Linked DNA regions of Homo sapiens: regions 2, 3, 4, 5, 6 and 7 are each linked to region 1. Evidence: promoter capture Hi-C in 16 types of primary human blood cells and fetal thymus (Javierre and others, 2016). All regions are on one chromosome and are shown on one strand. The core of a region is centred on a gene start or on the middle of the fragment in contact, and the rest is flanking DNA. Distances in the headings are between cores, read along the strand shown.

Region 1 (3,159 bases), core at 282-2,781:
CTATATAATTTGGTAATTAATTGCACGTGGACCCCGAAGGCTAAAGATGAGTTGACAATGATTCCGATGCATTAATTTGAATCAGAAAACATCTTACGTTTGAGCTACCCTTGGGCTAGACATTAGGACATTTCTATTAGGGAGGTGGAAATGTGGGTCTAATGATCAGGACAGATATTGATTTAGAAATCAACCACAGAGATATGTTGGCTGAATCCTTATGAGAAGAAATCACCAAGGAATAATTAGAGTACAGAGAGAAAAAGGACAAAAAGAAAACCTTAAGGGAACACCTGTATTTTAATATAAAGTAGCGAGAGAATGAAGGAAAACGGGTCAGCCAGAGAAGAGGTAAGAGGTTAAGAGGTAAGAGGTAAGGTGATAAAAGTCAAGGAAGAAACGTTTCCAGAAAGACCGCCGAATACTGCTTAAAGGACACGTAAGTAATTTACTGTGGTCACAGAGATCACATCGAAGCTCCTAAACTCCGCACCTATTGAATGACCACACTAGAAAAACAATGTGGTTTTTCAAGAGGAACCGATGTGTCATTTTACCAATAGTTAACCTGGGACTCGGTCATCAAAATTCATTGCAAGTTCCAATCTCCTTCATTAAACCTTCTTTGCAGCCCACACAGCTCTCCTTACATTGAGCTTTTGAGGTAACTATTATTAATCATGTACGAGGACCCACGTGCTCCTTCATCCTTGTAGTACTGCGCGGTGGTTAAATGCAAGGGCTTCCGAATCAGAGGCTGGATGGATTCTAATACAGCAGTGTGACGAGCTCTTGTTAACCAACTTTTCTAAGCCTCTGTTTTCTCGTCTGCAAAAGGGGGATGGTGGTACTTACTCTATCAGAGTTGAGAAGAGTGCATGAGATGATTGCGAGTAAAAACCTTAGCGCAATGCCTTCAAAGGCTCAATTCATTTTGCTGTTACTGTGTTTTGGAATTTCCCTGAGGGTAGACGACTACTCCAACACTATTCCCTAACGCAGCAGCACTGACATGGGGACAGTGCGCCTCATTCAGCCAGCTCTCTGGGAAACAACTTTCTGAGGAAGAGAGATAAACAGCTGACGGGTTTCCCGGGACTCCGCAGCCCACCGAGACAGGGTTGACTGTAGGGCGCCGAGGAAAGGGGGAGGTGGGATCCCAGCAACCACTGGCGACCTCGGAGGACCGCAAGTCCCAGGGTGCAGCGCGCCTACCCCGGGTAGAAGCGAGAGACACGGCTCCGAGTCGGCTCGCGGGAGAGCCGGGGAAGAAGCAGTGCACACTGGGACTGGTAGTCCTCAGGGGGCAACTCCGCGGGTCGGAGGCGGGTCGAAGCGAGAGATCCCTTCCCAGTCCCGCCTTTTGTCCACGTCTCACTTCTCCTGGCCAATGCCCTCTCCAGTCGCCGGAGACAGCCCCTCTCCCATGAGGTCTCCATTGGTCCTGAGGCTCTACGGCTTCGGCCCTACCCGGAAGTAACGTTGGGGAGGCGGTTTCCTAGACTACGACACCGGAAAGCTGGGGGAGGCGCTCCGGGATACTGAGGGCGGAGGGCGGTGGCAGCGCTGGCGCTGGGGACCGGCTTGGTGGCTTCGGGAAACAGTTTGGCGCCGGCGGCCGTCCGTGTTACTCCGCATCCCGCCCCGTCTCGGCACGGCTAGCAGCCCCCTGGCCACCAGCGTCCAGCAATGTGTCTCACCGGCCGGGCGTAGCAGCTGCGCGTGCGCGGAACCGCGGGGCCATGAGCGAAGCCGGCGGCCGGGGCTGTGGGTCCCCGGTTCCCCAGCGAGCGCGATGGAGACTAGTGGCGGCGACGGCCGCGTTCTGCCTGGTGTCGGCCACCTCCGTGTGGACGGCGGGGGCCGAGCCCATGAGTAGGGAGGAGAAACAGAAGCTTGGGTAAGGGTGCTGGCAGCCTGGGGTGGGTTTCTCGGTGAGGCTGACAACAGGAGGGGTGCCTGTCATTGCGACCCGGTCGCGTAGTGGCCTCTCCTGTCGCGATTGGAACGGCTCTTCCCGCGCGAGAACCCTAGAGGGGTGGACAGGGTCCGGGGAGGTGGGAACCGCCGCCCGCGACCTGACCTCGGGGGAGCTGACGGGGTGTCGCCCTGGCCGCCGGTGACATGTGCAGGCTCCTTGAAGCCAGGCGCGGTGTGTCAACGCGGCTGCCATGTCAGTGGCCCAAGAAGGGGGCTACAGCCCGCATCGCTGCGCGCTGGAGTTCTGCGGTTGGCTGCCTGTCGACCGAAGCATGGTTAGCTTTCTCGCGCAAGTGAGCTTCCAACTGGGAAAATGTTGCTGATCTCACAGTAGTTAAGGAAATGATGTTTACACCTGTTACGGAAAAGGGGGCGTTCATTGGAACTTGAACTTTACACATTTTACTATTTCCTTGCAGTGTTTTCTTGCACTGTATTTTCATAATAGAATGTTTGGGGGGAAATTATTCAAAAGTCTCAAGTATACCTATTCAGTAGTTTTTATCCGTCTTGGAAGTGTGTTAAAATTATCAATTCTATTTACACCATTTAATTCAGAGTAATACATACACGAGGTCCTACACATGAATAAGAAAAAAGCGAAGAACCAGTAGGAAATGGGAGAAAGGCATGAACGGTTAAGCCAGAAGAGGAAATGGAAGTGGTAAATAAACATGAAAAGTTACTCAACCTCCATAAACGTAGGAGATGCAGATTAAAACGAGGAGCTAGCTGGTTTTTGCCCATCAGATTAGTAAATATAATACAAAACACAAGGATACGGTTCTGGTTAGTTAAGGAATAGAAAAAAAAGGCTTAGTGAGAGTGTAAATTGCTGTAACTTATTGGTAGTATCTACTAAAATTTAAATTGTGCACACTTTGATTCATCAGTTCTATTTCTGAGAATCTACCCTAAGAAAATAAAAGCACTCTTAATGCAGAGATAGATCCAGCCTGGGCAACAAGAGCGAAACTCTGTCTCGAAAAAAAAAAAAAAAAGTGCATTTTGAAAGAACAGCTCTTCCTTGGAGGAAATGGTTCAATAGGGTACGTTCATATTATGGAATAATATTGAGACATTAAGAAGAAGGAAGTACGTCACTGGAAGCCTATCCAGAATATATTTCCAAAACAAAAAAAAATGCAAGTTGTAGAATAATATGTATAGTATCATCCC
Region 2 (3,054 bases), core at 322-2,821, 1.6 Mb before region 1:
AGTTTATTTTGTTGTTTTTGCTTGCTTTAGTCTCAACAGACTTGTACATTTGTTTTCCTTTAGCCAAGAAACAATCTGCAAAGTTGTGTTTTGTTTTTTTTTGTTTTTTTTTTTGAGACAGAGTCTCGCTCTGTCGCCCATGCTGGAGTGCAGTGGCGTGATCTCGGCTCAGTGCAGCCTCCGCCTCCTGGGTTCAAGCAATTTTCTGCCTCAGCCTCCCAAGTAGCTGGGATTACAGGCACCCGCCACCATGCCTGGCTAATTTTTGTAGTCATTTTGTACTGAAATTTTCACATGACTTAAACTGGAGCAGATTCATGTTATTCTTGTACTGTCTCCCTCATTTGTGTCTTGAATGGAAGAGAGAAAGATGGATGTAGCCACTGAGCCAGGAATTTTACATACCCATAGCCTATCTCATCTGGGCTAGAGCCCGTGGTTTGGTTACTGGTATACTATTTAGTAGTGTGACTGTTGTGAACTTTTTATAGTACTGTGCTTTCCTAAAATGTTGTTTTGAGATTTATCAAAATCTGGACCATATATTTCTTATGAGTGTCAAGAATGTGAACATCCTTGTCAAAAGGAAACATAAGAAGAGGAAAATCATAAACTAAAATTGGAACATGTCATAGTGAGAAAAGGAATGAGGAAAAAACAATTTGAGCTCTTTTCCCCCCTGCTCCTTTGAAAAATATATATGGTAACCAAATCAGTCTATAATTTTTTGTTTAAGGGAGCTCTGGATTACTTAAGTGATAAAATAGATTTAAAAGAGTGGATATAATTTATGATTGACTGTAGGATCAGTTTTGTATTTTCTCATTTTTCTTTTCCTTAGTATTAGTTCAGAAGCAGGCCTAGAAATTGATAGCCAGCAGGAAGAAGAGCCGGTTCAAGCATCTGATGAGTCAGATCTCCCCTCCACCAGCCAGGATCCTCCTTCTAGCTCATCTGTAGGTGAGTCCCTGCCCTTGACTGCAATACAGTTTTTATACATCAAACTTGTTTGTGAAAACACTGCTTTATTAGTAACAAATTAATAATCCTTTTTTCCTGTATTTTAAAATGCTTTATTTAAAAGAGAAATTTTATTATTAAAAGGAACTTGGTTTATATTGAAATAATTATTCTAAGAATATTCTGGCATCAATAATAAGAAATATGGACATGGTGGATCCATCCCAAAAGAATAGCTCACTCATGTTTCATCTAGACTATTGGTTGTCAACATATGTTTTGTAGAGCTCTTGGGTCTTTTAGAGGTGCTACAGGGGTTGTAGTGGGTGGGTATACTGGGAGGGAGGCTAAGGAGTGCTAGGGCACTCCAGGCCTCTTGCCTCTGTTTGAACCACAGCAGCTCCATTTTTATGTGTTCTACATATTGGGGTTCTACATGAGATTTGATGTGGAGAGTTAAGGGGTAAGAGCTCAGTTGCTTAAAAAAATTGTTTGAAATTTACTGATGTAAACAGTTTCAGAGTTTGGCTTTTCAAATTTTTGAAGTTATTTTGAAAAAAAGATATGTATTATTCCTGTAATAGAAGTTATTTTTTAGAATAACAGTTAGCATTTACTGAACACTTAACTGTGTATCATGTAGTATTCTGAGCCCTTTACTTATATTTCCTTATTTGATTCTCGCAACTCAGTGCGGTAGATATTCATCCACATTTTATAGATATGGAAGCTGAGGCACAGAAAGGGTGAATAACCTCTTCAAAGTCAAATAGCTAATAAGTAACGGACAAGCAACGATTACACTGAAGAAGTCTGGCTCCAGAGACCCCACTCTTGAACAATACACTATACTAGCTCATCTATCTCAAATTTTTAGACAGAGAATTACCTTTACTATTAAGGATATACAGTACTTGGTCATTCAGTCTGATTATTTTAATTTTTAATTGTTTACAGTGGTAATTCTCAAACTCTGCCATGGAACCTTCAGATTTTATGGCAGACCTGCTCAGTTATTTATTACTTTTTTAAATCACAGAACTTTGCTATCCCAAAATCTCTTCCCCTGATTCTCAGCTGCTTTGATGTGACACATCAGCCTATTGGTTAATATCCCTAATATCTACCGTTTCATATCTGGTAACTTTAAATTTCTATACATTATGTAATATGGATACTCATAACTAATCTTGCAATCAGGATTTAAAATAATGTATGTAAATTACAGAACCATTTCATACGCAGTAAGGCTTAAAAAATGTATAACAATCATATTAATGATTACTGAAGTTTTGTGCCCCCAGTTATATTTTGACGTCCCATAAAAATTGGCTTTCCTCAATAGAATTAGCACTTGTTATATCTTATCAGAGCTTGTATGAGAAAATATGGTTGTTTCCTTTAAAGTATAATATGAAATTACGATGTCTTTAAATTTATTTGATAATGTAAAACTGTACTTCCCCCATCTGAGTATTCATTTGGTCAACAAATATTTGACAGTGTAGCAGGCAGTTTCATAGGAAGCATCACTAAGAGAAGGTGACATTTAAGAGCTGAAAGAAGAAAGGGATCAAAGCTGTGCAGTTACTTAATGAAGAGCATACTAGATCAAAGAGAATATTAATAGATGCCAAGTCCATAAGGCAGCAGTGTGTCTGCTTGTGTTCAGGGTCAACAAGGAGGCCACTGTGGCTGGAGCACAGTGAGTGAGAACAGAGAGTAGCAGGAGATATGTTAAGAGGCGGGAGAGGATAGATCGAGTAGATCATTGTAATTGCCTTGGCTGTCATGGATACCAGAAGCTATTGGAGGGCTTCACACAGAATAATGACATGACATGATCTGATCAGTTTGGCTGCTGCATACAGAAGAGATTAAAAATGAATAATGGACAGAAACGAGAAACTTTGGAGGCTACTGCAGTAAGTCAGGAAAAGATAGTAATGGCTTAGGTGAGATGGTAGAGTTAGGATTGTGAGAAGTTGTCAGATTTGGGATATATATTTAAATTTGAGCATTCATGATTTGCTAATGATTGCATTTGGGGTGTCTGAAAAAGAATCAGATATAATTTGTGTTCTGTTGTAGGCT
Region 3 (2,993 bases), core at 217-2,716, 1.3 Mb after region 1:
CTGAACTTGATAAACATTAAATTTTTTTCTGCCTTTTTGCTTTTTTTTTTTTTTTTTTTGAGACAGAGACTTACTCTGTCACCCAGGCTGGAGTGCAGTGGCACAATTTCAGCTCACTGCAACCTCTGCCTCCTGGGTTCAGGCAATTCTTGTGCTTCAGCCTCCCAAGTAGCTGGGACTACAGGTGTGTGCCACCACGCCCAGCTAATTTTTGTATTTTCAGTAGAGACAAGGTTCACCATGTTGGCCAGGCTGGTCTCAAACTCCTGACCTCAAGTGATCCACCTGCCTTGGCATCTCAAAGTTCTGGGATTACAGGTGTGAGCCACCTTGCCCAGTCCCTTTTGCTCTTTTATATCAAGCTAAAAAGAGTAAAATAGAACTACTACAGCATAACATTATTTTTTAAAATAATACTCTATCTAGTCTTTTTTTTTTTTAAATAGAGATGCAGCCTAACTGTATTGCCCAGGCTATCTATCTCTAACTCCTAGCCACAAGCAGTCCTCCCGCCTCAGCCTCACAAGTAGCTGGGATTTTAGGTGTGAATCACTGTACCCAGCTCTCAATCTAGTCTTTGTCTATAATACTCATAGGTCTGAACTCACATTCAAATCTATTGGCATCCAGTGCTAGAAGATAGATTTCTTTATTCATGACTGATTACAGAAAAGAACACAATATTAGGACATTGTGAGTCCAATGCTAGAGATTTAAAACTTTTCAAAAACCTTTTATCACATAAAACAGGCTAATATAACCACATTTCTGTCCAAGTAGATGGAATGGCCTCTTTTCAATCAAACACAGTACTTGCTGAGAAGCTACTCTTAACATTCTTACCAAATTTACCCAGAGCTTTGGTAACCTGACGATTAATACATAGCAGGCCTCCTCCCTTTTTATAATAATAGACAGCCTGTGCCATGACATCGTAACAAGCCCTAATTTATTTTAATATTTATCCTATATATTCTGAATGTTTATAAATCCTGTGCACAATTAGGAACTTGGTAAATCATTCTCATCAAAGCAGAAACACATTTATTATCAGTTGCATACTCAGTACACAATATGTGTGAAGCTAGCCATTCATTCCTCTTCAGTACCACACCTCAGACCATAGAGTTAAGTGATTCAATCAAATGAGTAATTCATTCTCTTCAAATAGTGAGTCAGATACAAATTGACATTTAAATTCAGGTCTCCTGTTGCTCAAGATTTCTTAGATCAAGGGTCAGTAGCCTTTTTCAAACAGTTTGCCAAGTGTATATTTATTCATTCACTCCAAAGAGGGAGTCTTTTAGCCTGAAGAATAGTCGGGAATCATTGCAGTCCAAGATTGAAGAAAAGAAACTTCTGATTTGGGAGGCACTGAGGTGACAGTTGGGGAATAATATTCAGAGCTTTCTCTCCCCCTTCACTTCTCCATTCTCCTAATATTTACTAAGGGAAATCTTACTATCTTCAAGGTTTCCCCCAACTCCCAATAAGCAAATACCTCTGAGAAATTACCACACCTAAAATTCTTATCTGCTGATTTAATGGACACAATCTGGAGAAGACAAGAAGAGATGCTCATAGGAAAGATTGAAAAGTATTGAAAAACAAAAACAAAAACCGTAGCCTCTCTTATTTTATTGGCAGAAGGCCTTAGTGTTCATGCATCTCTTTACTACCCGAAGCACAGTACTTACTGAAATCATCTTGTGGGTCCCTAATCTAACAGCAACATATTTCATGTCAAAGTCTGTTCAGTTACCTAGAAGTTGCCATATTTTTCTTAAAACACCCAACTAAAATAACATAATCTTTTAATATTTTCTAGTTTCTACTTTCCTAACTTTTATCAGGTAGATAGTAATTTGGAGCACTAAGAATGTGATACTGATATTCATTGTCATAAATCTGTTCTTCAAAACCATGGGAAACATGTACATGCATGTACACATGCACACACTGATATGGTTTGGCCCTATGTCCCTGCCCAAATCTGATCTCTATTTATAATCCCCACATGTTGACGGAGGGACCTGTAATCCCCACGTGTCCAGGGAGGGAGGTGATTGGATCATGGGGGTGGTTTCCCCCATGCTGTTCTCATGAGTGAGTGAGTTCTCACAAGATCTTATGTTTTTGTAAGTGTTTGGAACTTCCTCCTTTGTTTGTCTCTCCCTGCTGCCTTGTAAAGAAGGTCCATTTTTCCCCTTCCACCATGATTGTAAGTTTCCTGAGGCCTCCCCAACTATATGGAACTGTGAGTCAATTAAACCCCCTTTGCTTATAAATTACCCAGTCTCGGGTAGTATCTTTATAGCAGTGTGAAAACGAAATAACACACACCTTCCTCTTTTCCCTGACATTATTATTGTACCAATTCAATTGGCAATTCAAGTTAAAATGTGATAAAGATGAAAAGCAAAGAAACTTAGGACTTAGGTCCATCACTTCAAGGCATACTAAGAATATGCATCCAAGCACTTTTTTGCTTTGCTTAACAATCCCAGGGTCTTTTCTATTCTCAGAAAACTTTTACATATCAAAAACCTGGATAGTTTGTTCCATATATGTAAAAGTTCTTTCTTTTCTTTTTCTTTTTCTTTCTTTCTTTCTTTTTTTTTTTTTTTTTTTTTGAGACAGGGTCTTGCTCTGTTGCCCAGGCTGGAGTATAGTGGCATGATCACAGCTCACTGCAGCCTCAACCCCCGGGCTCAAGTAATTCCCCTGCCTCAGCCTCTCGAGTAGCTAGGACTACAGGCTTCCCTCACGATGCCCAGCTAATTTTTTTATTTTTTGTAGAAACAGCAGTCTCCCTATGTTGCCCAGGCTGGTCTCAAACTCCTGGGCTCAAGAACCTCCAGCCTTGGCTTCCCAAAGTAATGGGATTACAGGTGAGCCACCTCACCTGGTCATATTTGTTAAAATTCTTAATATTAGCCTGGCACAGTGGCAGGTGCCTATAATCTCAGCTACTCAGGAGGCTGAGCCAGGTG
Region 4 (2,871 bases), core at 30-2,529, 1.5 Mb before region 1:
TGGTGGGGATAACTGGATTTTTAAAATGTCAGGGGAGGCAGATGCTTACAACCACTGCTGAAGTGAGAACCCTTAAAATAACTGGGCATAACTATAAAGGTCATGAACAGAGGTTTTCCAGGCAACAAATAAGCAAACAATAACAAAAGCATACTCATTCTCAAATATTTTTTAAAAGTCATTTGGAAAACACCACCTTAAAACCCTCCCTGAGAAATGACTGCAGAAATGTGACAATGGAATCCATCCCTGGAATAGAAATTGGCAGGTGTACTGTCCTAAATCCACAAAGGAATGTTGAAACACACTGAAAACAAATCTTAAAAGAATAGAGTCCAGGAATGCCAAAGTCTGAATATGCAAATAAAACAGTAAATTGTAGGACAACTTTCAGAACTTTTTGCGTACATGAGTGCATAATGCATACAAAAATGTATATATAGTGTATGTATATAAATACATATATTATATATAAAGAAAAAAGAGAATGAGAAGAGGTTGAGAAAGCAAGAGAAGCAGACAAGACAGTATCAAGAGATTGCTCTTTTATAGTTGGCAGATTTCTGAAATAAGAAATCATCTGTAATTCCAGCACTTTGGGAGGCTGAGGCGGGCGGATCACCTGAGGTCAGGTGAGACCAGCCTGGCCAACATGGTGAAAACCTGTCTTTACTAAAAATACAAAAATTAACCGGGCATGGTGGCAGGGGCCTGTAATCCCAGCTACTCGGGAGGCTGAGACAGGAGAATCGCTTGAACCCCGTAGGTGGAGGTTGCAGTGAGCCAAGATTGTGCCACTGCACTCCAGACTGGGAGACAAAGCAAGACCCTGTCTCAAAAGAAAAAAAAAAAAGAGGAAATCATCCTTACAGGAAAAGCTTACTTTCATAGATTAGGTGTCTGTCCTACTTTTATTGCTATTAATTGTAACCATTAATTTTATTTATTTATTTATTTATTTTTGAGACAGAGTCTCACTCTGTTGCCCAGGCTGGAGTGCCATGATGCAAGCTCAGCTTAATGCAACCTCCACCTCCTGGATTCAAGATATCCTCTTGCCTCAGCCTCCGAATAGCTGGGATTACAGGCACACACTACCACACCTGGCTAATTTTTTTGTATTTTGTATAGAGACAAGATTTTGCCATGTTGCCCAGGCTGCTCTTGAACTCCAGACCTCAGGTGATCTGTCTCCCTAGGCCTCCCAGAATGCTGGGATTACAGGTGTGAGCCACCACACCCAGCCCCATTAATTTTAATTTGATTTATTTAATCACAATTAAAATGAAAGTAACACTGTTTTAGTGAACAACCAATTGTATCACAGAGGAAAAGGCAGTTTAGAAAGTGCCCCCAGTGTTGTGAACCTTGTCATAGTGTTACGAGAAAGCCGAAGGGTCTGGAGATACTGGAGTAGTCATCATTCTTATTGAATATTCACATTTGCTTTCATGTGTTTTCCTGTCTTTTCTTATCTAAACAATTCTGCAACTTATGCCTATGCAGACAGTTACCACTCATGTTCAGGTTTCATAAGAATCTCGTATTTTACTGGAAATGTTTACTTTAGAAACATAATTTCATCATAACTGTCATGAATCTTGATTTTTATTCTCTCAGATTTTGCTTATCAAAGGGGAACAAAAGGAAAAGAAAAGAAAAGAAAAATCCAAAGCTTGGCATTGTTACTATTAATCCCCCTAGATGGCATGCTAGCATCTTTTACTAATGTGATTTCACTGAATGTACTTTAACAGTCTCTAAAAATGAGTAACAAGAACTATTCATCCAGGACCTGTTTTGGGAGAACTGTGAAAAGTTTAATGTTATAACACAAAATGACAGTCACATCTGTATATGTCCATACCTGGATAAATAGTTCTTGTAAGAAAAAGAGAACATTTTCAAGACTAATAAAATGCCATTTGAAACACTATAGTTTATTATAATATGGTATCTATGTCTAAATGATGCCAAAATAAGTTATTTATCAATAATTTATTTGATTTTAAAAAACAAATTGTTCAACATATAGGCAAAAATTACATGTTATCTAAATATTGTTCTTTTTTAGTTATTTTTATGATACTATATAGCTCCAGCATAATTTTATGATGAACTGTCTGCACTTTTTAAACTTTCGAGAGAACCATAGAAATAACAAGTACCAAAATTATTCTTTATACAAGCTCAAAACTCTCAAAAGGAGAAAAAGATGAGAATTCCAAAGCACTTACAAACAGGCTACATGTTATATATTATTTTAAGGTTGTACAGTATATTAAACTCAAGCAAATATAAATTTTTAGAAATATATTTCCGTTGTTATAAAAATCAAGACTGAATGATTAGCAATAGTTGTTAAATAAAAGTATGTTCGATGGTTAAGCTACCTTGAGATGAAACTTGCTGAATCACGAAAACAGACAGCAGCAACAACAGGTAAATGGGAAGTGTTTTCCATGCCATCGTTGTTTTCAGGTACCGTAGGTACCCTTGCTGAAAATAAAATAAAAGTATCAGAAAACAGCTCTTTCATCTCACCACTAACTTAGGCTTGCATTATACACATTTCAGTAACTTTAAAAATGTAACAATAATAAAACCATCCCATTCTTGAAACAAGACTTTAAATCAGCTTTAATTTTATAGAAAATATTTGGCCATTAGACTTAATCTTATGCAGAACAAATCAAGTCACCCTCAGCCACGTTATTGACAGTTTTAATTCTTAAGAAATCTCCAATATAGAATAGACTTATCTTAAAACTCTAGCCAAAGTATGGCATGTACTTAACAGTGCAAGGTTAAAATTTTATCTTAAGGAAAATAATAACCTGTGTCACAGAAATGTAATTTAATAAGCATCAT
Region 5 (3,089 bases), core at 222-2,721, 1.6 Mb before region 1:
CTATTTATAGACTTTTCCACAGCAAACATTAGCTGAAAGAGAGAAAAATACACACTAATTGAATGTAAAATGAAAAAAAAAGATGAGTGTTGAAATAGGCAATTATAATGTCCCCAACTCTCATTTAGCTTTAAAATTCCATGATTCTTTATTTATTGGAGAAGGGGTCTCACTATGTTGCTCAAGCTGGCCTTGAACACCTGGGCTCAAGTGATTCTCTCACCTCAGCTTCCCAAGTAACTGGGACTACAGGTGTGTGCCACCATTAATTTTTCTTTTCTTCAAATTAAAGACTGGAGCTAATTACTAACATTTTTGAATTCCTTTTAGGAAATTACAGAAAAATTGGGTTTAAATAAAAAAATTTAATTCACTATCATTAGAGATTAACTGGACACAAAAAATTAATTTGGGGCAACTAGAATTTATATAAACTATAGAACAGAGACTTTAATTAGAATGAGAAATGATAAGTGATTTTAACTAAAGAAATCAAGCATGTCACCCATTTAGCATTTCTTATTTAAACGTCACACAAGACTTAAGGCAATATATAACAACATATAAAATATAGTAATAACAAATTGAAAGTTAAAGTAGAATAGTGAGATAAATTTGTGTCAGAAATAAGAATTATAAAAATGCATACTTGATGTAAGGGGTGGTAATACATTTCGGTCTAAGCTTTCTAACAATAATGTGCAGAGAGAAATCTAATCTGTAACCTAATTCACATGGTCTGTAAGCTAAAAACAATCATCAGAGGAGGCACAACCTTCTTCATAATATAAAAAGAAATTCTTCCGGAAACACAATATTAATGTAATATGATGAATAAAGTCCTTAACAATAATGGGTGACACTGACAAGTTTTATAAGGCTGTTTCTTGTAGTGTTTGTCAGTGTAGCCAGTGGAAACAATTAGATAATTGAAACTCAGTAATGTCAGAGATAAAGCATTTCTAAAGTTTTATATACTTTTTAGGAACAAAAGATACAAAAGCAAGGAAAGTGGGCCTGGCTGTATCTCTCTAGCACTGGGCCCACATTCAACCCCCTCAATTCAGCACCAGCCAAAAAAGGTTGCACAATGAATGCTATTAATATTAAATACGCATAGATTTCGGTTAAATTTCAAAATGCCAAAGAGAATGAACAATTGTAAACAAGGTAAATTTATTTAAGATGGAAAAGTTGGCAGAGGGTTAAACAATTTAGCAGGGAGGAGAATATCTCCATTTTCTTCCCTTACTCCCTTAGGTGCAAATATCAAAGGCTTGAGGCTGGGACATCTGACAGGACAGGTTACAAGACTGAAAAAATCTGTAACATCTGAAGTTCTCAGCTGTATATTTTTTACCTAAAAAATGTTTTTCTGGGATACTGTTGGGGTTGGGTTTTATATGTCTCAAGATTTTAAGGTTCCCCCTCTTTTGGGGTATGAAATACCCTTCAAAAAGTTCATGTGGATCCTGAATGCTAAAAGAGCTGGCTACACAGAATCTACCTTAGGTTTGGGTTTAAGGGAAAACAGCATGTGGACCTTCATATTTACTTTTACACTATGTTACCCAATTCTCTGGTGCAGCAATTAAGCAAAAAACACAGGAGATTTCTGATAGATACTGTGTCCAGGAATAATCTGATTGTTTATGTTTTACTCTCAGGATCTCCGGAGAATTGAGAAGAAGGTAAAGAATTTCAGCACCTATTAATTTCATGTTACAGTAATCACTAGGTACTAAATGGAAGGTGTGACAGAATACTGCTATTGCATAAGAAAAACTGTTTAAAGCATTATAATTTGTTTCCTAATAGTCAGAAATTACCTCTAAAATAAAGATTATTTTAAAATATGTAGTTTTTCTGTCAAAAAGAATTACTTCCACAAAGATGCCTTTTTTACAACAAATTATTAGATCCAAGTGACTTTGAGTTCTTAATATTATAATTAATCATTTGAATTTTTCAATATTTTACAATGAATTATTTGTTTGCATAATTTACATGGAATTACTGTCATTAGTCATGGTTATTATTGAGAAGTAAATAATTTAACTTTTTAACTTGAGGAAAGAATAGCTTTTTCAAATTTGTATGAAATGCCATATGGGCTGATGATAGCCCTGTTTTGGGTAGTGTACTAAATAAAGAATAAAATTACCCATGGAAAAAATAATAAATAAAATGTGTAGTTTTTAAAAATATAAACATTTTTTACACTCAAGATATCCAAGCAATTGAGTGACAAAAGCTTTTTCAATGTAACCCCAACAAAAAGAATTATGGAAAACAAATGTAAATATGCCTAGAATCATTACACATACTCATAATCAGTAAAAATAACATATAACTGATTTCATTAAGAATTTTCGATATATCAAACTTACTCTACGCAGGGCATTTTGAAAATCATTTGCCAGTTCTAAAGTAGTAATAATAAATACTCCAAGAACTAAAAGTCCCCCTGGTAGCATTCTGGATACCTAAAAATAGAAATATATTATTAGCTAACAAATTGGCATTATATGCAATCCTTTCTGTTTGAGAAACTGTCTGCTTAGCATGTCCTTAGCTTTTCACCTTAAAACTACTTTATAAATAAAACTATCTGATAACAACATCCTTTAGCTACATCAATAAATAAATCCTTTTCTCAGGAGATCAAAGACTGAAATATTTTTTCAATGGCGTCCCACCATCAGCTAAATAAAATGAAGTTTTATTTTAGATTGATATTTCAGACTTTCTAGGATCTGGTCAATGATGTTTATACCCTCATTTGACACTACTTTTCCTCAAGTAATTCAAATATTTGTCAAAAACTACTTGAAAAGTAGTGTCAAATGAGGCTATAAACTGTTTTCCATACACATCCTAGGCTTTCTAACTATGTGTCTTTACTCAGGGTGTTCCCTAGGCCGAAACTGACTTTTTCTTATACTTCTGCATGTCTCAACCCTACTGGATACTTCAAAGGCAGCTTGAGGAAGCTGCCTTCTCTGATCTTTTCATCTCTGAACTCCGACAGGGCTTTGGTGTAGTTTTCCCATGGATTTTATCACATAGTCTTATATCATAGTTATCTG
Region 6 (2,908 bases), core at 366-2,865, 1.9 Mb after region 1:
ACTCACCCATTTGCATGCTAACTTGGCATCTCAGTCAAAACAGAATTTTAAATTTCCCCTCAAATCTGTTCCAACACCCTACCCCTACATTTCGGTTTCCATAAACGGTACGACATCCACCAAGTTACTCCTGGCACAAGTTGAGAGTCGTCCACTCCCTTAAGATTCTCCATAGCTATCCCTTGTAGAACCCTTAATGTGTGTCAAACAATATCCATAATAGATCATCTAAATGGAACTATTTTACTTAATCCTTAGTAACCTTGTACAGGTAAGATCACTATCCCTTTAGAGAAGGGGAAACTGAGACAAAGAATATCTTGCTTCAGGAAGACAGAGCTCCTAATTATAAGAGCAAGAATTCGGGCGGGCGCGGAGGCTCACGCCTGTAATCCCAGCACTTTGGTAGGCCAAGGCAGGCGGATCACGAGGTCGAGAGATCGAGACCATCCTGGCCAACATGATGAAACCCCGTCTCTACTAAAAATACAAAAATTAGCTGGGCGTGGTGGCGCGCGCCTGTAGTCCCAGCTACTCCGGAGGCTGAGGCAGGAGAATCACTTGAACCCGGGAGACCGACGTTGCTGTGAGCCGCCATCGCGCCACTGCACTCCAGTCTGGCGACAGAGCGAGACTCTTGCAAAAAAAAAAAAAAAAAAAAAGGCGCAAGAATTCCAGAAAACGTAGCCTGACTCCAGATCTACTACCTTCCACCACTACGCATTTCTGCTTCAAAATACGTCCCCTATCCATTCGTTTCTCCCCATCTCTCCTGCCACCACTACTGCACACCCGGGCTAGTGAAATATTGTCCTACACGGTTTTTGTTTCCACTCTTGCCACCCTAAAACCCATTCTCCTTTGAAGGCCTTCTCGCCACACTCCAGTCACATGGCCTGCTTTCAGCTCCCGCCCAGTTTCTGCCCTTAAGCGATAACTAATCCCTTCCGCTTCTGCAGGCTCTGCTTTTCCTTCGCGTTGGCCGAGGTTATCAGCTCAAAGCCTCCCTCCTTCGAGACGCCTTACCTCGCTATACTAGCCAAAGGCGCTCTCCCTTTACATTCTTCAATTTTTTTTCCTCTACCCACAAGGCCTGCACGACGGCGCCAGTTATTCGTGGCTTGAATGAATGAAGAGCCCTAGGCCAGTGGCGCCCCGGCGGCAACCACCACAGGCGAAGCACCCCCTTCCCTCAGCCGCCGCGGTGCCCCGGCGTACGCAGGCCAGAGGAGGAAGCGCGCTTTGCCTGCTAGAGGCAGCAGCGGGAAACGCTGGGCGGAGGAGAGGGGAGGGGGCCACAGGCTGCCCGGACGGCGCAAGCGCATCGCGGCGAGGCGCGCACGCAACCCGCAATCCGGGGACCCGCGGGCGGCTCGTCCCTTCCCCCACCCCCAGCCGCCGCCGCCGCCCGCGCTTCGCAACAAAGCCGGCTGCGGAGCCATGGTCCACGGCGCCCGCCCGCGACCCCGCCGCCCCGCATGGTAGCCGGAACGTCTCTCCCTTACCAGCCTTCGCTTCCTGGTGCCCAGCTCTTAGGACCGTGTGTGACTCTGGCCTTCTACCGAGACAACAGAGAAACGCACAGCAACTCGCATGGAGGAATCGGCGAAATGGCTCCGACCGCGGCGCTAGGGGGCGGGGCCAGCGAGCGTACGCATGCGCAGAGCGCGTGCCAGGGCGGGGGATGGCGAGGGCGCGCCAATGGAGGGGGCGGGGCTCAGCAACCTCGCGGCGCGGAAGGGTTTCGTTGCTAGGGAGATGGGCTGAGCCGGGCGGGCATCGCGCCAGACCTGCTACTCTGGATAATCCACTCTCCTGGATAATCCACTACCCTGGATAATCGGCTGCCCGCTTTTGCGCATGTTAGGGAGTTGACGGCCTGTAGCATTCTGATGCAGCAAAATATTTCGCAGGGTCTGTCATAGGGATCTCCGGTGAGAGGAGGTTCCCTTCGAAGGCAGAACTGGAAACCTTGCTGCTAACTTGGTAGGGTTGTTGAGATAATTACATGAGATGGCATATGAAGGGCGGCTTAGTTCAATACCTGGCATGTAGTAGGTGTTCAGTGGGCGTAGTTACCGGATTGATTCAGATAGTCTGAACGCCAGTGTCTCTTGAAAGAAATAAACTGGCCGGGCGTGGTGACTGTAATCCCAGCACTTTGGGAGGCCGAGGTGGGCGAATCACTTGGGGTCAGGAGTTTGAGACCAGCCTGGCCAGCGTGGTGAAACCCCGTTTCTACTAAAAAAAAAAAAAAAAATACAAAAATTAGCCGGGCATGGGGGCGGGCGCCTGCAATCCCAGCTGCTTGGGTGGCTGGGCGGGCTCCTGCAATCCCAGCTACTCGGGAGGCTGAGGCAGGAGAATCGCTTGAACCCCGGGGTCGGGGGCGGAGGCGGAGGTTGCAGTGGGCCGAGATCACGCCATTTTCTGGGCGAGAGAGCGAGACTCCGTCTCAAAAAAAAAAAAAAAAACCATGAAAGAAATAAGCTCAGTGAAGGCGGGCATTCTGCCTGGCTAACGCAGGTCGCTCCTTGCCGTGCCTGGAACATTACTGTAAGTGCTCAGCAAACTACTTTAAGGTAGGAATAAAATCTGCAAGGTTGCTTTTGTTTAAATTGGATAACCTTTTGTGTTCCAAGTCTTTGGAGTAATTTTGTGTTCCAAGTCTTTGGAATAATTGTGTCCTTAATTATTATACTAGTCACTGTTAAATTTTGAAACTCCAGTGCGTCCCATGAAGGTAATGATACAAAACATTTCCAGCTGGGATTGTTCCAGGGAATCCAGACTAATCAATTATCTGGGCTCATTATATCTATGGATCTTTATTTTTCACCTCTTTCCTTATGTTTTTCTTAATCCTTCTAGCTGATAGTGATCACTCCCTTTAAAACTGTCATTCTTA
Region 7 (3,139 bases), core at 620-3,119, 1.6 Mb before region 1:
ACCTGAGACTTGACTTATGCAAATGTTAGGGAATGGATATGGAGTTGCAAAACTGATTATATCAGGGTGTAAACATTTTAAATTTAGCAGCAGTTTTTTGGGCTAATTGGATCTTAAAAAATGAGACTTCAATTTAGTAACACTACAATACAGTATTTTCCAAGTAAGTTTGCAATTAATTTTGGTTTTAATCTTGTTCTTTCTGCTTAGTTATCTGAATTGAAGAAAACACTTTCTAGTGTTCAGAATGAAGTACAAGAAGCTCTTCAGAGAGCAAGCACAGCTTTAAGTAATGAGCAGCAAGCCAGACGTGACTGTCAGGAACAAGTAAGTATAGCCAATTATTGAGAAATGAGCTTCGATCCTAGAGAATGATTCTTGAAGTATATTTATGCATTATAAGAACTGGTGGACCTTACAAAAATTCAAGATAATTTCCACTTTTGTGGAACTTAGACAAGACAAATTGAAAAGTATAGATGGAAGGCTAAAAATAAATACATAGGGCAATATTCATTAACAAAGCAATCTTGACAATGGGAAAATAAAAACAGGACTAGGAGACTAAAATTTGTACTTGGCTCTCATTTGCAAAAATTATTTTACTATTGTCCTTCACTAGATCTGATTATAAAATTACAGATACAGTTGATTAGAGGCAACCTTTGCTAACAAAACAAGAACCTCTTGATAACATTGTTAATGCATTACCAAGTTTGCGCAGATATCTATATACTATTTATAAAATGTTAAAAAAGTATCATTATTTTGAGTGTATGTATGTATGTGCACACAGTATTGAAGCTTTTTATAATTTTTTTATGAACAGGAAATGATAAAACAATTCAGGATTCAGAGTTACTAAAATGGTAGGATGGGATAGCAGTACATTTGAGCATATTGGTAATGTTCTTATTTTAAGTTGGGTGTCATGTTAATAGCTATTCATTTGCTTACTATTCTTTATTGCCTATATATATGTGACGTGTATATTGCTATTTTAAAATGTAATACAGGGAAGAAATGCTTCAAAGTAAATTTCATTAAAATCAATGGATCTATAATTTAGTACTTAATATAGCTGAGTTATGTTTAGCTTCTTATATCAAAAAGTTTGTCCAAATTGCTGGTCTTCTAAGCTTCATTTCTGACAGTTTTATAATATTAAGTAACTAAAGCATTAACTTTTAATTATTTTCTTATTTTGCTACATTTAGATTGTCTTTACTTTTATTATTTAAAAAGTCCAATGTGTATCTTTGGACAAGTGCTAACTAGTTTTATGGATTTTTAATCTTTGGTATCAATTGGGTAATAATTTCTTATAGGCTAAAATAGCTGTGGAAGCTCAGAATAAGTATGAGAGAGAATTGATGCTGCATGCTGCTGATGTTGAAGCTCTACAAGCTGCGAAGGAGCAGGTTTCAAAAATGGCATCAGTCCGTCAGCATTTGGAAGAAACAACACAGAAAGCAGAATCACAGTTGTTGGAGTGTAAAGCATCTTGGGAGGAAAGAGAGAGAATGTTAAAGGTATTATTGTAAATCTGAATAGAATGTTCTGTTGAATTGAAAGAGTTGTTTTTTTCTTTATTTTATAATGTTTTGAGATGGAGCCTCGCTCTGTCACCCATGCTGGAGTGCAATGGCGTGATATTGGGGTCACTGCAATCTCCACCTGCTGGGTTCAAGCAATTCTCCTGCCTCAGCCTCCCAAGTAGTCGGGATTACAGGCGTTAGCCACCGCGCCTGGCCAAGTTGTTTTTTTTAAATATGCATTGGAAAATCTGTTATTCTGATAGACTCTTGGCTTGCAGGATGAAGTTTCCAAATGTGTATGTCGCTGTGAAGATCTGGAGAAACAAAACAGATTACTTCATGATCAGATCGAAAAATTAAGTGACAAGGTCGTTGCCTCTGTGAAGGAAGGTGTACAAGGTCCACTGAATGTATCTCTCAGTGAAGAAGGAAAATCTCAAGAACAAATTTTGGAAATTCTCAGGTAAATCATGTTCTTACTGCTTCATTTCTGTGGTATAACAACTATGAAATGAAACTACAAATATATAAATTAGAGAAGGAGATTATACACGATTTTGATATAAAGTTCATTCTTTTATTTGTCAAAGAACTCATAACTTTTAACATTTACACATATTAAACAAGTGACTTTAAAGTTGAATCTGATAGTAAGAACTAGAGCAGTTTTCTCTTGAAAAACTAAATGCCTTTCAGATCATTTTAGAGATAAACATTCTAAAGCCAGTGTCTATAAAAGAAAATAGAAATACATCTCCCATTATTATTTATTATTAATGAAAACGTGTAATAGTTATTAAAGTCAATGATTTTTGTCATCTTACCAAATTACCTACGTTTTGTAATGTTGGCTTTTTAAAATTCACATAAAATTTTAATATCTGTATTTTTGTAGATTTATACGACGAGAAAAAGAAATTGCTGAAACTAGGTTTGAGGTGGCTCAGGTTGAGAGTCTGCGTTATCGACAAAGGGTTGAACTTTTAGAAAGAGAGCTGCAGGAACTGCAAGATAGTCTAAATGCTGAAAGGGAGAAAGTCCAGGTAGGTATACTAAGCTTTAAGAAAGCACTTGTTAAATCAAAAGAGAAGCACTCATTTATATCTCTACCATTTAACGTAATGTAAAATTTAACTTGAAGTAAGCATTCTTCTAAACTTGTAAATTCATTAAGCATTTGTTAAACACTAATATAGTATAGTGCTTAAAAGTAAAGGCTCTGTAACCAAACTGCCTGGTTTCAGATTCTAGCTTCATACCATTAGCTGTGGCCTTGGGTACATTGTTTAACTTCCCTGCTCTTAGTTTCTTCATCTGTAATATTTGGATAATAATGAGGTTTAATTGAGTTTGTGCACATGAAGCATTTAGAAGCATGTCTGGTATGTAGTGGGTGCTTAATAAATTCCAGCTATCTTAATTTATTATAGTTATGGATTATACGTGTGGATAGTCATTCTAGGATAAAGTGATTTAAACTGCTACAGAATATCTTTCTCACCCAAGGAGCAAAAAGTAGTAAAAACTAACAACCAAAGGAAAAGAAGCTGTGGTAGTGAAATGGATGATAATAAGACAAGCTTGACTCCTTACCCCACACT

Evidence for each region. Contacts are between HindIII fragments. The CHiCAGO score rates a contact against its expected background, and 5 or more counts as called.
Region 2: a fragment that was not itself captured here is called in contact with the fragment with the promoter of EDEM3 in region 1 in 4 of 17 cell types (non-activated CD4 T cells, total CD4 T cells, fetal thymus and 1 more); the score reaches 8.2 in non-activated CD4 T cells.
Region 3: a contact is called between a fragment that was not itself captured here and the fragment with the promoter of EDEM3 in region 1, in 1 of 17 cell types (fetal thymus). The highest score is 5.7, in fetal thymus.
Region 4: a contact is called between a fragment that was not itself captured here and the fragment with the promoter of EDEM3 in region 1, in 1 of 17 cell types (activated CD4 T cells). The highest score is 5.5, in activated CD4 T cells.
Region 5: a fragment that was not itself captured here is called in contact with the fragment with the promoter of EDEM3 in region 1 in 1 of 17 cell types (total B cells); the score reaches 5.5 in total B cells.
Region 6: the fragment with the promoter of DHX9 here is called in contact with the fragment with the promoter of EDEM3 in region 1 in 1 of 17 cell types (fetal thymus); the score reaches 6.3 in fetal thymus.
Region 7: a fragment that was not itself captured here is called in contact with the fragment with the promoter of EDEM3 in region 1 in 2 of 17 cell types (total CD4 T cells and naive CD4 T cells); the score reaches 7.4 in total CD4 T cells.

The regions. Positions count from the first base shown.
Region 1 is chr1:184,753,230-184,756,388 of GRCh38, reverse strand. It overlaps EDEM3 (ER degradation enhancing alpha-mannosidase like protein 3), which reads left to right and starts at 1,531. Exons shown (of 20, transcript NM_025191.4): 1 at 1,531-1,900. The coding sequence starts at 1,743. It overlaps LOC105371649 (a long non-coding RNA gene), which reads right to left and starts at 1,215. Exons shown (of 3, transcript XR_922357.4): 1 at 856-1,215. RefSeq lists enhancers at 1,278-1,377, 1,848-1,947. The HindIII fragment of the contact is 1,960 bases long and covers 1-1,897 here.
Region 2 is chr1:186,315,388-186,318,441 of GRCh38, reverse strand. It overlaps TPR (translocated promoter region, nuclear basket protein), which reads left to right. Exons shown (of 51, transcript NM_003292.3): 49 at 842-960. Among named protein-coding and RNA genes, the nearest start is that of PRG4, 21 kb to the right of the region's middle. The HindIII fragment of the contact is 5,178 bases long and covers 1-3,054 here.
Region 3 is chr1:183,466,072-183,469,064 of GRCh38, reverse strand. All of the region lies in intron 3 of SMG7-AS1 (SMG7 antisense RNA 1), which reads left to right. Among named protein-coding and RNA genes, the nearest start is that of SMG7-AS1, 4.4 kb to the left of the region's middle. The HindIII fragment of the contact is 3,386 bases long and covers 1-2,993 here.
Region 4 is chr1:186,296,474-186,299,344 of GRCh38, reverse strand. It overlaps PRG4 (proteoglycan 4), which reads right to left. Exons shown (of 13, transcript NM_005807.6): 2 at 2,394-2,499. The coding sequence starts at 2,469. Among named protein-coding and RNA genes, the nearest start is that of PRG4, 1.6 kb to the right of the region's middle. The HindIII fragment of the contact is 797 bases long and covers 881-1,677 here.
Region 5 is chr1:186,385,385-186,388,473 of GRCh38, reverse strand. It overlaps ODR4 (odr-4 GPCR localization factor homolog), which reads right to left. Exons shown (of 14, transcript NM_017847.6): 4 at 2,391-2,486; 5 at 1-32. Among named protein-coding and RNA genes, the nearest start is that of ODR4, 11 kb to the right of the region's middle. The HindIII fragment of the contact is 1,570 bases long and covers 687-2,256 here.
Region 6 is chr1:182,838,054-182,840,961 of GRCh38, reverse strand. It overlaps DHX9 (DExH-box helicase 9), which reads right to left and starts at 1,615. Exons shown (of 28, transcript NM_001357.5): 1 at 1,506-1,615. DHX9-AS1 (DHX9 antisense RNA 1) reads left to right here and starts at 1,371. Exons shown (of 2, transcript NR_148933.1): 1 at 1,371-1,650. RefSeq lists a silencer at 1,296-1,725 and an enhancer at 1,149-1,990. The HindIII fragment of the contact is 6,331 bases long and covers 1-2,908 here.
Region 7 is chr1:186,342,768-186,345,906 of GRCh38, reverse strand. It overlaps TPR (translocated promoter region, nuclear basket protein), which reads left to right. Exons shown (of 51, transcript NM_003292.3): 24 at 211-327; 25 at 1,329-1,532; 26 at 1,817-2,001; 27 at 2,434-2,581. Among named protein-coding and RNA genes, the nearest start is that of TPR, 31 kb to the left of the region's middle. RefSeq lists an enhancer at 1,192-2,391. The HindIII fragment of the contact is 1,456 bases long and covers 1,142-2,597 here.